3 separate regions of the Homo sapiens genome follow, and regions 1 and 3 are each linked to region 2. Evidence: promoter capture Hi-C in 16 types of primary human blood cells and fetal thymus (Javierre and others, 2016). All regions are on one chromosome and are shown on one strand. The core of a region is centred on a gene start or on the middle of the fragment in contact, and the rest is flanking DNA. Distances in the headings are between cores, read along the strand shown.

The links. The method cuts DNA at HindIII sites, captures the fragments that hold promoters and counts their contacts. A CHiCAGO score of 5 or more calls a contact.
Region 1: the fragment with the promoter of ASNSD1 here is called in contact with the fragment with the promoter of ZC3H15 in region 2 in 1 of 17 cell types (naive CD8 T cells); the score reaches 7.9 in naive CD8 T cells.
Region 3: a contact is called between the fragment with the promoter of ITPRID2 here and the fragment with the promoter of ZC3H15 in region 2, in 1 of 17 cell types (total B cells). The highest score is 8.3, in total B cells.

What each region holds. Positions count from the first base shown.
Region 1 is chr2:189,658,912-189,663,745 of GRCh38, forward strand. ASNSD1 (asparagine synthetase domain containing 1) reads left to right here and starts at 2,548. Exons shown (of 6, transcript NM_019048.4): 1 at 2,548-2,699. ASDURF (ASNSD1 upstream open reading frame) reads left to right here and starts at 2,548. Exons shown (of 4, transcript NM_001353493.2): 1 at 2,548-2,699. The coding sequence starts at 2,610. RefSeq lists an enhancer at 2,606-2,795. The HindIII fragment of the contact is 6,437 bases long and covers 1-4,834 here.
Region 2 is chr2:186,483,651-186,488,215 of GRCh38, forward strand. ZC3H15 (zinc finger CCCH-type containing 15) reads left to right here and starts at 2,610. Exons shown (of 10, transcript NM_018471.3): 1 at 2,610-2,807. The coding sequence starts at 2,733. LOC105373785 (a long non-coding RNA gene) reads right to left here and starts at 2,350. Exons shown (of 2, transcript XR_001739147.3): 1 at 2,150-2,350. RefSeq lists an enhancer at 2,240-2,719. The HindIII fragment of the contact is 12,604 bases long and covers 1-4,565 here.
Region 3 is chr2:181,889,872-181,894,803 of GRCh38, forward strand. ITPRID2 (ITPR interacting domain containing 2) reads left to right here and starts at 1,859. Exons shown (of 18, transcript NM_001130445.3): 1 at 1,859-2,406; 2 at 2,744-2,789. The coding sequence starts at 2,196. RefSeq lists silencers at 1,736-2,065, 2,356-2,495. The HindIII fragment of the contact is 2,528 bases long and covers 1,479-4,006 here.

The sequences.
Region 1 (4,834 bases), core at 1,298-3,797, 3.2 Mb after region 2:
TTTGTTTAGTACTATGTTGTCTTGGGCAGCCCTTGTGAATAAACAAAAACATCAGAACCTGGCAGAGCCGTAAGCAACAGCCCACTTCCCAAAACGGGGTGAACAGCTGTAGACCAATCAGCGGTGTTGGGTGTTTCCGGCTACTCGATGTGGACATGATTGTGAGTCAGAACCAATTCAAACTTTAACCAGAGCTCCCACTCTGCCAGACACTATAATAGAAGGTGGGGTACAAAGAAGACCAATAGGCTAGGATGCTCAGTCTCATCAGCTTTACAGATAAGCCTCACTATTACCTCTAAACAAAGTGGAAGCCAGTCCTGGCAGCGCACACCTATAACCCCAGCATTTTGGAAGGCTGAGGCGGGCAGATAGCTGGAAGCCAGGACTTTGAGACCAGCCTGGCCAACATACTGAAACCCCATCTCTACTAAAAATACAAAAATCAGCCGGGCATGGTGGCACACACTTGTAATCCCAGGTACTTGGGAAGCTGAGGCAGGAGAATAGCTTGAATCCAGAAGGCAGAGGTTGCAGTGAGCAGAGATCGCACCACTGCACTCCAGCCAGGGCAACAGAGAAAGACTGTGTCTCAAAATAACAACAACAACAAAGTGAAGTGATACTTCACTTTGGAGCTCTCTTTTTCCTAAACTTGGATTCTTAAAATGTTTCTAAGCTAGCAGTTTTGTAAGAACTTTTTTCCTTAAAAATCTGGCACATTTAAAGTATTGGAAATTCTGGGCTTTTAAAAATATTGGGATTATACCAGTGCTTATTTTTCTCTATAAACTAGTCAGAACAGAGGCCCTTTAATTAGAGATACTATAGTGGGATTTATTAATACACTCCAGAAGTAGGGAAATATTTCATATTTACAAAGGGAGACATAAAGCCTGTTCTAAGTTACAGACACACAGACACATAAAGAGGTTATTGCTTCTGTCTTACAACTTCAATCTCAGGTCAAAAGTAAACACAAAACCACAAAAATTCACCAGTTCTTCTGCTTGAGCGGCCTTTATGTTAAAACAAACAAACAAAACCTTACTAGCCCACATCTCAAATAGCTGTCCTCCTTCCCTCTCAGTGGACACAAAAGTAATTAATTAATTTGAGCTCACAAACAATAAACAAAAAGACTTACAAACTCGCTTCTCTGTCACCTCTCTTATTTATTTATTTGAACCCCTGGCCTCAAGTAATCCTCCCACCTCAGCCCCGAGTGGTTGCGATTACAGGTTTGAGCCACTGCACCTATCTACCTCTCTACCAATGAGACTAGACGTCCATCATCCAACAGATACCACCAAATGGTTAGACCACAAAACCAAACTCCCAATCATTGCTGCTATCAATGTATCAGTAATGTATAAGTTATACCTGAATAACTTATCAGGAATGTACAAATCAGAAATGAAAACACAATCTTTAAAAATCAATTATAAAGGAAAAATATATAACCACTTGGGTTTTCTGTAAGAGCAAATAAAAAACATGCCTGGCCTTAAACAACCCATGATGTATACATTTCTTTCGCCAGATAGTTTGATTCATCACATAAATCCAGTTGGGCATCTCTGTGGAAACTTAAGATTTCCAATAATATAGTATAATTATCAAAAACCTAAAATCATGTCTCTAATGTGAACATAAAATATATACATGTCAAACTTTTATTCAACTCATTGGTTAGTGAGGGAACCGATGACTTTAAAACCAATACAGAATATTAGAGAAGCTAGGCATATGTTAATAAAGAAATGTTAGGACAGAATGCAGGGTTAGATACAAAACTGACTAATGTGTTGCAGAACAATAAATCATAACCTGTGTTGGTATCTGGTACAACAAAAAATTATTTGCATCTCTACCAAACCAAAATCTCTACCAAAGTTAACCTTTGCCCCTACAGAATTGTAAAACAGCCCAGTCAATATAATAAAGTCAAGTCCAGAGCAGCACTGAAAGAGCATCCAGTAAATAAATCTCTTTTGCCTATTTCCAAGTTTTAGTCATTTTTTCCACAGAAATGAGATATTGCAAATATTGCACGGGACATAGATGCACTAAAAAACTATTAATTCATCTGAAGTTCATACTGTATTTTATCCGGCAACCCTAACCACGAGTTAACCAAAACTTTACCAAGTCTGTACAGTTCTTTTGCCAACACGGTATCTCTTAAATCTGTTCCTTAGCTTCATCTTTCCCTAGATAATAAATATCATATTAAGCGCTGTTTCTATTGCACGACTATTCTTCATATTTACCACTGGAGGGCGCACAGAACTCGTAGTATACTAGATAAGAGGTCATGAAGAAACCACCTGAGCGTTTCTGCATCTCAACCACAAGAGGCCAGTACAGGAACCTCAGATTTTGCAACCAGACTGTTTACTCGCTCCCTAAGCAGCCATGCGCAGGCGCGAAACTCCTCCCCAGGCCAGACCCGGCCTGCGCATGCGTTCAAGTGAGCGCGCAGACGCTATTGGTAAGACTCGCGGGAAAAGAAAGGGTGAGCGCGGCTGGAAGCGCGCATGCGCTGTGGCTAATGCCGTAGGCTCCTTCAGGGCTGAGCCATCCCGCGTGTCTTGCGCTCGGTGGAAATGCCCAGCCGAGGGACGCGACCAGAGGACAGCTCTGTGCTGATCCCCACCGACAATTCGACCCCACACAAGGAGGATCTAAGCAGCAAGGTGAGTGTGAGACGCGACGAAAAGGCTCCTGGACTCGGGACCGGGCGCCACTGGACCCTGAAGGTGGTCCGCAGCGGGCAGCGTGGGGCCTGCCTGGGCCTCGGCTTTGCCCTGCTACTTTGCTCTTTTTATTCATAGCACTTGACAGCCACAGTTAGTCCTTTTATTTTCTGAAAACAGTTGCGAAAAGGGAGATCTTGAAATTTGTCCCGAGACTGGACCCAGGTGACAGTGGGGCGGAGTTTTGGTTGGGTGTTTTCCTCCCTAGTCTTTTTAAACTTTTGGAAATACCGCCCACCCCAAATCTGTTCCATCAAAGATATTCTCCATCCAGTTAACCATGCCAGCAACCCGGGGTCCATCCTTGACCCCCATCATGGAAGCCTATCAGTTCTACCTTTGAAGCTCATTTCAAATATGTCCCTTTATCACCGTGAACACTCTTACCACCCCAAATAAGCCACCGTCATCTGCTATCGGGACCCCTGCCCCCGGCAAGGCCTTCCTAAGCGGTCTCTCCTCATCCACCTGTTAGCTGCTGCTTCTCCGTTAACCAGAGCAATGGTCCTAAAACACGCATTGGGTTGTCACTCATACCAAACTGGGGGAGAGAGGAAGCCAATATAATATAAGCCTTAACTGCCATAAACAAACAACCTTTAAAGATAAATGGGGGTGGCGAGGGTTATAGCCCTTCAGGTATTACATGTCCTAGATTCTACTTTGGTTCTGTCCCAAACTTACAATGACATCTTGGGCAAGTCTCTTTAATCTTTCTGTATCAGTTACCTTCTTTGAAGTAAAGTGAAATGTACACCTGTCATTCCTAAAATGGGAAAGCCCTGTATAAATGTTAAGTCTCAAAGAATGTTTACAAATTTGGCCTTGGAATTCAACCTCATTACTACAGCTCTGCCAACGGGGGAGACAGAAAGGTGCACATTCATGGGGATTGGGGGTGAATTTTCAAAAGACACACAGCCCATTCTGATTACCACCATAGCAAGCCACTTACGCATACTGGTGGTTACAGATCCCTGAGGTGTGTGTGAGGTAGCACAAATATGATAAAAGCTGCTTTTAGAGGCTCTTGTGATACTATGTAATCAGTCATGTTCACAAAATAAATAGAGTTAAAAAGAAACTTAGTTTTCACTTAGTTGAGCCCTCCCCTACAAATAAATGAAGCCCAGGCCAGCATGGTGGCCCAGGCCTGTAGTCCCAGCTACTCGGAGGCTAAGGTGTGAGAATCGCCTGAGCCCGGGAAGATCAAAGCTGCAGTGAGCCGTGATCGCACCACTGCACTCCAGCCTGGGTAACAGAGCAAGACCCTGTTTCAAAAAAAAAAAAAAAAAAAAAGCCCAGTTCAACAGTGCCAGCTCTATGCTAGTCATTGAGATAAAAAGAGGGAAAAATACCAAGATGGAACATGATAGGTCTTACTGTCCCCAAATAGGGCATTGCTTGATTTGAATGTTTGACTGCAGCACTTAGTACATAAAATCATGAAAATATTGAAAAAAGTAACCCACCCCTCATTCAATTTGCTTTTTTTTAAATCTAAATCACAACTTAATTTTCAATCTAAATCACAACTTAATTCCTTTTGGTGTATATCATATATATATATTTTTTAAATTATTTATTTATTTATTTTTTTGAGACGGAGTTTCACTCTTGTTGCCCAGGCTAGAGTGCAGTGGTGCAATCTTGGCTCACTGCAGCCTCCGCCTCCCGGGTTCAAGCAGTTCTCCTGCCTCAGCCTCCCGAATAGCTGGGATTACAGGCATGTGCCACTACGCTTGGCTAATTTTGTATTTTTAGTAGAGATGGGGTGTCTGCATGTTGGTCAGGCTGGTCTCGAACTCCCGACTTCAGGTGATCCGCCCGCCTTGGCCTCCCGAAGTGCTGGGATTACAGGCATGAGCCACCGCACCCGGCCTGGTGTATATCATATATTTTTAACAAAAGGTATAAACCTTGTTTAGTAACTGTAGTCCTTGGCATGATTGCTGGTTATGAACACGAAAATCCCTGTCTGGTCTTAATGGGTTACCTAACATTTTGCAAGTCTAATCACTGTTTTTTCTCCTCCAGCTTTTCCTGAACTGTACCCCCACACAGAGACTCCTGTT
Region 2 (4,565 bases), core at 1,360-3,859:
GCCACCTTCTAGCTATGTCTTCAAATATGTTTATGGAAATATTGTTCACAGAATCTATAGGAAGCCTGGAAAATCAGGCTTGGGAAATAAAAGAAGCAAGAAATAATAGCAAAGAATGAAGTAAGGACTTGTATGGATCTTGCCACACTGGCCTGCCGCCACTGGACTGGTAATACCATACATGCACTCTAATGCCCTGAAAAATTCCTACACTTTGAGTCTTTGTCTTGTTTTCTTGAGATTAAAAGCCTGAGACATAGGGCTTCCTTCCTATACAGAAGGACATTAGAATGCTGGATAGCAAACAATAATTTCTATTCAGTACAAAATCTACTGCCTTAATCTATTACATCTGATACATTCCAATAAATGTAAAGTTATCCAAATGGCTATATCCAAGGCAGTAAATTCACAGCCTGTCTACCAAATCGAAGCAGTCAGGTTTGACAGTTTTTCTTTTAGTTCTTTTACGGTGGGCATTTACCTCAGGTTTAACACTGTTCCCACAACTTCCTAATGTATTTCACTCATCCTGACGCTCAAGTTTATAGCCCTGCTTTCTTGGGTATATGAATTGTAACCCTTGGACTATGCCTTCTAAGCACTGTTTTGTGAAAGTTTCGTTTGAATTGTAAGGTCAATAAAAATAGCAGTAGAAGACATAAAAGTCCCAGCCCTGCTACCATTTGCTATTTGAGACCAGGAAAAACCATGTACCTTATTTCAAAAAGTAGTGAATTCAATGAGTTGGACTTCCTTATTTCTAAAATGTATGAAGAAATAGTGTACGAGGGAGAGTGCTATAAGAGCATGTACTATATTCAGAAATGTGTATTTTCCACTTGAGGCAAGAAAGGATCTTTGTTCTCTACCTGGGCTACACTTCAGAGGAAAAAACCGAAAGCAAAGGTCAGGAGACAGAAGAAGTTATGAACCATGAAACTGGAGCCATTATCATAACATTATGAGACTCTAGATTCTTTGTAACTTCCCCATATTTGTTACTTATAATTCATTTGCCTCATAATAATAATCAGTAAAATTACTCAAAATCAAAGGCCCAAAGGGCATCTTTGGGGCACTAAAAGTAGGAAGTTAAGACAACTACATTCCATATGCAAACAAAGTCTCAAAGGAGACGATCCCCAAATAATCAAATGGATAATAATACTGAGTAAAGAGGGGGCTGGCTGCATCCCTCCATCCTCTGACAAGAACTATGACAATTACAAAAAATAAAGATGAAAATATGTAAAAGGGGGGGAGCCCATTAACCTGCCAATATGAGCCCAAATGAAAAAAAGTGTGTCAACATACACCTGCCATTCTCGACACAATTCTTTTTAGTAGCTATCACATTTCTTCTACACACACACATACACACACAAAACATACTTGGGGTTCCTTGACATTATCTTACGTAGAAAATTACTAAGCAAATAATCAATTTGACTAAGTAGGGGGGCTTATCGTTTTCTCCCTATTCAAATTAATGAAAAAGATAAAAAAACTTTTATCTATAAAGATGATTCTTGGTTCCACAATGCTTCTTAACAGAAATAGTTTAAACAATAATCATTTTAAAAAATAACAGCTAAGCATTGTACATTTTTAAAAAATAGTATTTTCGTTTGTACAAATATCAATGGGTCCCATTCATCATTCAAGTACCTTTTCAAACAGGATCTAAGTTTGTAATGTTAGGTAATAGGCATATAGGCTGAAGCCGGACTGCCAAGATTACAATTGCTGGCTCTGTCCTTAATATAACTTTGGGCATCTTTCTTCCTTTCTCTGCTTCATCTATAAAACGAAAACAGTAACAACTCCCACCTAAGTGTCGTTGTGATAACTAAATGAAATAGTGTGTGTAATGTGCCAAGGAATTTCTGGAGCTACCAAGCACTTAAACTAAGTTCTAACTAAGTTTGGTTACTTTCACGTTATAAAGGAATTTTTAGGAATCACCTAGGCACTCTCCTAAAGTCTCAAAATAACTTAATACAGTACTTCTAAGGAGTTCAAGTGCCTCCTTATCTGGGACGCCATCTCAGATGCTCTTCAAATGAAAGGGACCCTGCAAATGAAAGTTAACTTTTTCCATTTTTTAAATAATCCTTCGCAGGAATCTGAAGCACGCGACACTCACGGGCCATTCAGCTCCGCCTCTCCAGGGAACAAGAAGGTTAACTGAGTAACGTGGTCACGGAGCAACCCCGAGTCGCTGCGGCTGCTTAGTAGTCACTCAGGATGGGGATGGTACAGGGGACCATTAACTGGCCCGGCAGGAAAAGTTTCCCGGTGAGGTGACGATGGACAAGAGTCGCCCCATCGTAAGCGAAAGTGGACTGAGAGGAAGCACAAACGCATGGACTCAACCAGCTCGCCCAGATTCACCCTCAGGCCTTTTGCCATCTGAAAAGGGCCTATCGGATGCGCGACATCACGAGTGACGCGTAGTCATTTTCCCACGTCCCGTCCCTGCCCCCTCCTAGTGGGACGCAGTGGGCGCGCACGCGCAGCTCCGCTTCCGGGAGCCGCTCCTCGCTACCCACTATGCTCTGCGACATCGACCTGTCGCAAAGGCCGCGTTTGCGGGGCCAATGAGCGACTCGCTTTCCGTGCGGTGCGGCGAGTGAGGCCCCGGTCTTCCTCCTCGTCCTGCCGCAGGGCCAGAACCCCTGACGGTATTCAGCTGCGCGTAAGTCTGGCCGGTGCCATCTGTCTCCGCAATGCCCCCCAAGAAACAGGCTCAGGCCGGGGGCAGCAAAAAGGCGGAGCAAAAAAAGAAGGAGAAGATTATCGAAGTGAGTACCCACCCCTCCCCCACTCACGCCGCGAGCCCTCCGGAAAGCCACTTCCCCGCTCCGGGCTTCCCTGGGAGCCGGCTCGCTTCCTCGGGCCACGTGTTCCTCCCTTAGGCCTGTGTGGCCCACTGCCCCTTCTCCAGCCCCTGATGACGCTAGCTCTCTCATTACTATAGTGACGCTGCTGGCGCCCCCGCACCTGGGCTTTGCCTCTCCGCCCACACGCCCGTGTTCACCCACCCATGCACCCGGGTGCGAAATGACCCCTCGGGACTGGCACAGGGTTTTATCCTTCGCTAGTCCTCTCAGAATTGAGGAGATTTTCCAAGGTTATGTGTGAAGAAATACGCTGAACGGTCTCGGGCCAGCGTCTTTCTGGAAGACCGACTCATGACGAGTCTTTGTGTTCGTTATTTCTTTACCCGTCACCCAGGGATGGTACTGTTAGTTCTTTTGAACCAACAAATTACGACTTGGTGGCTTTTTCGATCCACCTCTGAAATGTTTAAAGTCCCATAAAGAATGGAAGGACTTTCCGTCACAACCCAGGGTCTTGAACGCAGAGCTTGGTACTTACATTCTGAAGTGGATTAAATAGGATAACGCCTTAAAAGAGATTAGGTTTCAGTGTCACTAATTGTGTGAAGTCCCGTAACCCAGTTTGAGATATATGTGTGTGTGTGCGCGTGTATATATGTATACATCTATGTGTGTGTATATGTGTATATATGTGTGTGTATATATATTCGTTTAACACATTGAGCCTGTAGCCCTTTAATGGCCAAGGAACGCTATTGACGTTCTTACATGTTGTGCACTTGTTTTCCAACAACTGAATTGAGTTTCCTTAAAAGATGAACCATATTTGACATTACGTAAACATACCATACAGACCCCAACGAGGTATTTCTTCCCTCGATTTCTGCTATTAATCCTCCTCATAATTAAATAGGACCTCTTGTACTTTGGATATAATTAGAAAAAGCCATGACCATTTTACCGCATAAGGTGTAAAGTCTGCTCATTGGATTTAAGAAAATGCTTAAGAATTTTGCTATACTTGGCCAGGTTCCAACTTTGGAGGAGAACTGGTATTCTTATTGCCAATTTGTACAGTTTAAAACTGTCATGAAGTACTATAGCCAGACACTTAAAAACAAAATATTACCTTCACATCTGTGTTTTCTATTACCTTATTTGAACAATCTGGATTCGTGGCACTTAGGTAAATTTCAGGGGTTGCTGATCGGATGGCATTCACTTTTATGAAAACCAAGGACATTTTAGGGATGTCGTTTTCCTCGAGATTGGACCCTGATACGAAGTAAAACTCCCATTGAAATTAAATGTTATGTAATAATTTAGACAATTTAAATTATACTTCATGCATTGTAGAGCTTTCTCTATATCTAATTGTTTTATTTTTAATTAGTAGGACTAGTATTCTTATTTTAAGGAATTATGTGTGAAAGTTGTTTATAGTATCCATCAACTTTTAAAATGATGCATATGTTATGATTCTAGTCATCTTGTGACGAAATTATTTTTTAGCTAAAGAGAAAGCAATTTTAGTTTCAATAATGAAGGTATCTCCAAAGAAAAATGCAAAATAAGACAACTGCACTTTTTAACTAAAAATATTAACAACAACAAAGTGGTGAAATTAAGCCCGATTTTGTGTTTTCTACATTTAATATATATTATTTTTTTAATTTATTTTTTGTTGAGGTATAACTTATGTAAAATAAAATGTACAGG
Region 3 (4,932 bases), core at 609-3,108, 4.6 Mb before region 2:
GAATGTTCTATCATCTCTCACAATTTACAATCTGGCTAGTAAGCCAAACATACCTTCCAGGGCCAGTCATATTATTTACTCTACAATCCAGTCCCCAAATAAATGACATAGACATGCTGTTGTATATCAGATCCCTGTGGGAGGGGTGTGATCAGGAGTGGTGGAATGGTGGAGTCAAAAAGTTCTGGCTTAGCTAGATTTTGAAAGTCATGAAGGTAGTGGACAGAAAGAACAGGAATGAATTAATTAGCAAAGACAGAGTAGGCAACAGCACTTAGATATGATAGAATTGAAGCTGGGAGCAGCAGAGGAACAGGGTGGATACGTAAGAACCCTGGATAAAACTTTGAAGGCAGCATATTTTGTGGCACTTGACCAGCCCTTTCAATGCTTCTTCTTAGGTACCTTCTTTATTCATTCTCTTTTTCATCTTCCACACAGGCAGCGAGACTCTGACCTATTTTGGAGAGCCATTAAACTGTTAGCTGCATCCTACTACAGGACCCTTGAAGGCTGAGAAAGTCTTATAGGTTCAAAGAAAAGATTTTCTAGTAGTGAAATTTCAAGCCATAGAGATATTAATATCACTGTTCTAACTCCCCTGACATTTGGCAGTACATAGATGAGACTCAGGAGAATATTATGATGGTTCTGGAAAGCTAGTCTGGATTTTGGATTTGATCTTGGGGATATTAGTAAACCATTAGAAGATGTCTTGGAATTGTAAATCTAGAGCAATGCGCTAGAAAGGAGATAGGAAAGAATGAAGGCAGGAAAATCAGTGTGCTATTTTAGTAGTCTATGACTTATGTGTAAATGCCTGGACAAAAACTAGGCACTATTTCATCTCCAGAGCATTCTTCATTCCAAATTCTCCAAAAGTTATGGTTTCCTGTAGCTATCAATGACAATGCACTTAATTACCTTGTAATTCGAATGCTTCCATTAGGAATTTTACTATGCTCTGGATTTTAATTTCAAATGAAAAATAATTCCTTCCTTAAAATATTTTGTCTACGCAAAATATTCTTTTCAATCACGTTAAGATTTTAAAAAGTGTTCTAACTTGTTCTTCAGAGCATAGCCAAGTACAATAAAATATTGGAAGCCTTACTTATATGTATAGTTCAGATGTAACATTTAGGGGAACAATGCTGCTTGATAGGTCTGTCACATTGTGTCTGGTTTTGGATAGAATTTGAGTATTTTTGCTAATGAGAATTTAAACATAACAAAACGGAATGCCAAAGCTGGCTTTAAAAAGTTTTGAACCCTGACATCATTTGTTTCTTGTATCATGCTGTCTCACCAAAATCCAAGCAACTATCTCCACATTGTCCCAATTGTTTCCTCTATTCTCCCTCACCAAAGTCCAACTTCAATGTGAAATTTCCAGATTAAATATCCTTTCACAATTCATTTTCATTCATAACATAAACACGATAAATAACTTTAAGTATGAAAGTAGCACTCCAGGAAGCTTAGTCTTTTGCAGTTTTTACATTTTGGCAACACCAATCAAGCACCTCTTTCCGTCCTTACCCCAATTCCTTGGACACTAAAGAGTCTATATTCAGGCGACTCTTTCAAGTGTATGTTTCAGGGTGCCCAAGCAGACACTTGTTTTCTCGCGGGGGATGTTTTGTGAGACTTGGCCTCCCCACTTACGTTCTATTTTTAGGTGAGGGAGGAGGAGGAGGAGAGGAGGAAAGATTATTAACAAACTAATCTTGCCCATTCCGCGGGCAGTAGTCGGGGGCTGGCCTGCTCCGCGTCGCGCCGGGCGCGCCCCGCCCTACCGCGCCCCGCGCGGCCCCGGCCGGAAGGGGGCGTGGGCCGCCGCCGAGGGAAGGCGCGCAGACGCGCAGCGGCCGGCCTGCTCCGGGCGCGTCAGGCAGGGGGTGGGGAGCAGGGGCCGGGCGGGCGCTCGGCTCCCAGCCGCGCTCCCTCGGGCCACTAGCGCTCCCGCGCGCGCCCGGCCGCCTTCATGTGAAGCGCCGGCCCTCCGCCCCTTCCCTCCCCTTCCTTCCCTCCCTCCCTCCCTGTCCCCTCCTCCTCCTCCTCCTCCTCCGGCGCCCGCTTCAGCTCCCCGGGGCCCCCTGCCCGGCCGGGCGCTGACAGCAAGGGCGGGGGTCCCTGCCGCCGCCTTGTCTCGCGCAGGGTCCGGCTGGGGTAGCGGAGCCCCCAGTGCGGCCATGGACCGGCCCCTGTCGTCGTCGGCGGAGGCGGAGGAGGAACTGGAGTGGCAAGTGGCGAGTCGCAGGAGGAAGGCCTGGGCCAAGTGCCGCAGCTCCTGGCAAGCGTCGGAGACGGAGGATCTGTCCACAGAAGCGACGACGCAGGACGAGGAGGAGGACGAGGAGGAGGACCTCCCCGGCGCGCAGCTGCCGGCAGCGGGGGGAAGAGGTCGGTGCTCCCGGCCGGGCTCCGGGGGGAGGCTGGTGGGCTGGGGAGAGTCTCGTGCGCCCTGGGCGCCTGCCACGAGTTCTGGGAGAGCCTCGGGCACGGTAGGCCGAGGGGAGAGGGGACACTTCCGACCTTCAAACGCGCGCGCTGAACGAGGCGCCCCCAGCGTCAACACAGACAACTGGGTGCCATCCGATTTCCCTGCCAAGGGACACTGAGACGTGTCGCTTAGGCTGCATTTGCCGTGGTAGATTTTCCTACTTGGGAGGGTCCAGGGTGACTCCGCCGTCGTAGTGCTCCTGGGTGGTAACGTGCTGTCCCCTCTCTCTACCCCCAGGAAACGTGCCCAACGAGAAGATCGCGATATGGCTCAAGGACTGCCGGTGAGTGCTCCCTGGTCCGCCCGCGTCCCGGGGGAGATCCGTGCGGACGGGACGCCGGAGCAGAGCCACTCGGGCCGCGTCCCTGTGGGTCCCGCGACCGTTGTAAGCTACAAACCGGAAAGTGAGCCGGCGGATAGCTTCCTCCTCTAAGCGATTAGAAATGGAAGTGCTGTGACCGCTGATTATTTGGTGACCGTGTTGACTTTACAGTTAGGACTTGAGCTACTCACGCATCGTGTTAGCATCAGAGATCAGAAATCCAGAACAGATAATCATGCCATATTTGTTCTGTTTTTATTTGAAAGAATTCTCACATCTCGAACAGGATATTTTGTTTTGCTTTAGTTTTGGCATCTGTACAACTGGCACGGAATCATTTTCCTTTCAAATGTGTTTTAGACGAGTTTAATTTACCTAACTACACTAAATGGGCTTTAATTTTGTTTCTGTTTGGGGAGCTATTAAAACTAGCTAACTTTGTACTTATAGTTTACTTCTTGAACATGGAATTGTCAGATGGCACTGGAATTCTCAGGGAATAGAACTTTTAAAAGCATTCAGACTGCATAAATCTGTTTAATTACATGCTTTGGCAACTGGTACAAAAATGTTTGATAAAATACAGAGGAGATGAATCATGTTGCACGTAAATCTGACTACAGCAAAATGTACTTGTTTCTTATTCCACTTTGCTAGTTGTAAAATCAGGAATGTAGCCTTTAAACTTTTGTTGGTGTTTGCTTTCGAGCATATTTTTGCTTTCTCAATTTAGATTTTCTTAATATTTTGTTCAAATATTAGAGTTAGGGTAGTTTGTTTTGTTTTGTTGTGGAAAGTGATTCATATGCCAGTTTGCCTCCTCTAAAGACAGACAAGATATTGGCTACCATGATATTAATGCCTTGTTTTGATGAATCGACTGGAACCTTATTGAACACTCTTTATTACAGAACTCGTACCCTTTATTGGAAGTGTCATAGACCCTTCTGAAATATGATGACATATATGGAATAACTTCTGTTTAAAGATGCACAGAGGCAAATACACTGCTTGAAGTCCTTGGACCCCAGATTTACAATCTAGCTGTAAATCAATCTCCCAGTTTTCAGATAAGCCTTAGATATTAGATACTTCACTCAAAGTATGGATCAAGAAATTGTATTAATGTGCTATTGGTTCATTTAATTGTTAAATACTAAAATAGTCTATAATGTAAAAGCTTGAAATTTTGAATGTACATGTTCAAGACCTTTTGGGTGAGATCTGATAAAACTAGTATCTTTCAGGTTTCCACTTAGAAATGTGTTTGAGAAGTTGTTTTGTAACTTTTACTTAAGTCCTTTAAAGCCTCCAATCTGACTCTTTATTTAAATACAGTCCTAAGTACAGTATTGGCTTACTTTAGGTTTCTTAAAATAGGCTTAGCATTACAAATACATTTATAATGTTTTATTGTTTAAATTCAAGTGCATATTCAAAAGAATTTTAAAAATTAAGAACAAGAGAAGAATCACACTATAGTTTAATGACATATAGGATTTAAGATTGTATAAGAGATCCTATCAATTAGACAGTAAATAAGTGCATCTTTTTTGAGACAAATGCAGTAGGCAAATGTTGACATTCACCAGGGCACAGTCAATCCCTGACAATTTCAGAAGTTTTGTTGCCAATACTGATTTATGTGGGCAGATTCTGTAGTCTGCTGCTCCTTCTCTCATGGATTACCTTCTTGTTCCTACAGTTGCACCTATTCTACACAAGAGTGGCATTCATTTGTATCCAGGAAAGCTAGAACAAGTAGTCTTTTAATCTTGGCTATATTATCACAGATTCGACTTAGGATATGTTGCATCTGTATTTTTGTTTTAAATAACAACTCAAGTTCCTTCTCAGAGTTGGGCATCTATGTATTTTGTTTATTATGTACAAATGACCTGAAGACAGCATTTTACCCACTTGATAAGTTCTCAAATAGTCTTTGTTTCTTAGTGCCGTCCATATCCTGAATAAAGATACCGTGTTTTCTTTCCTTAAAGGGAGTCTTTATTTTGATAACCATTTGTGGGGGGACTAAGTAAAAACTGCTTGAATTAACATTTAAGAAATGGTAGAGATTTTGATAGAATTTGGAAGGGAGCAA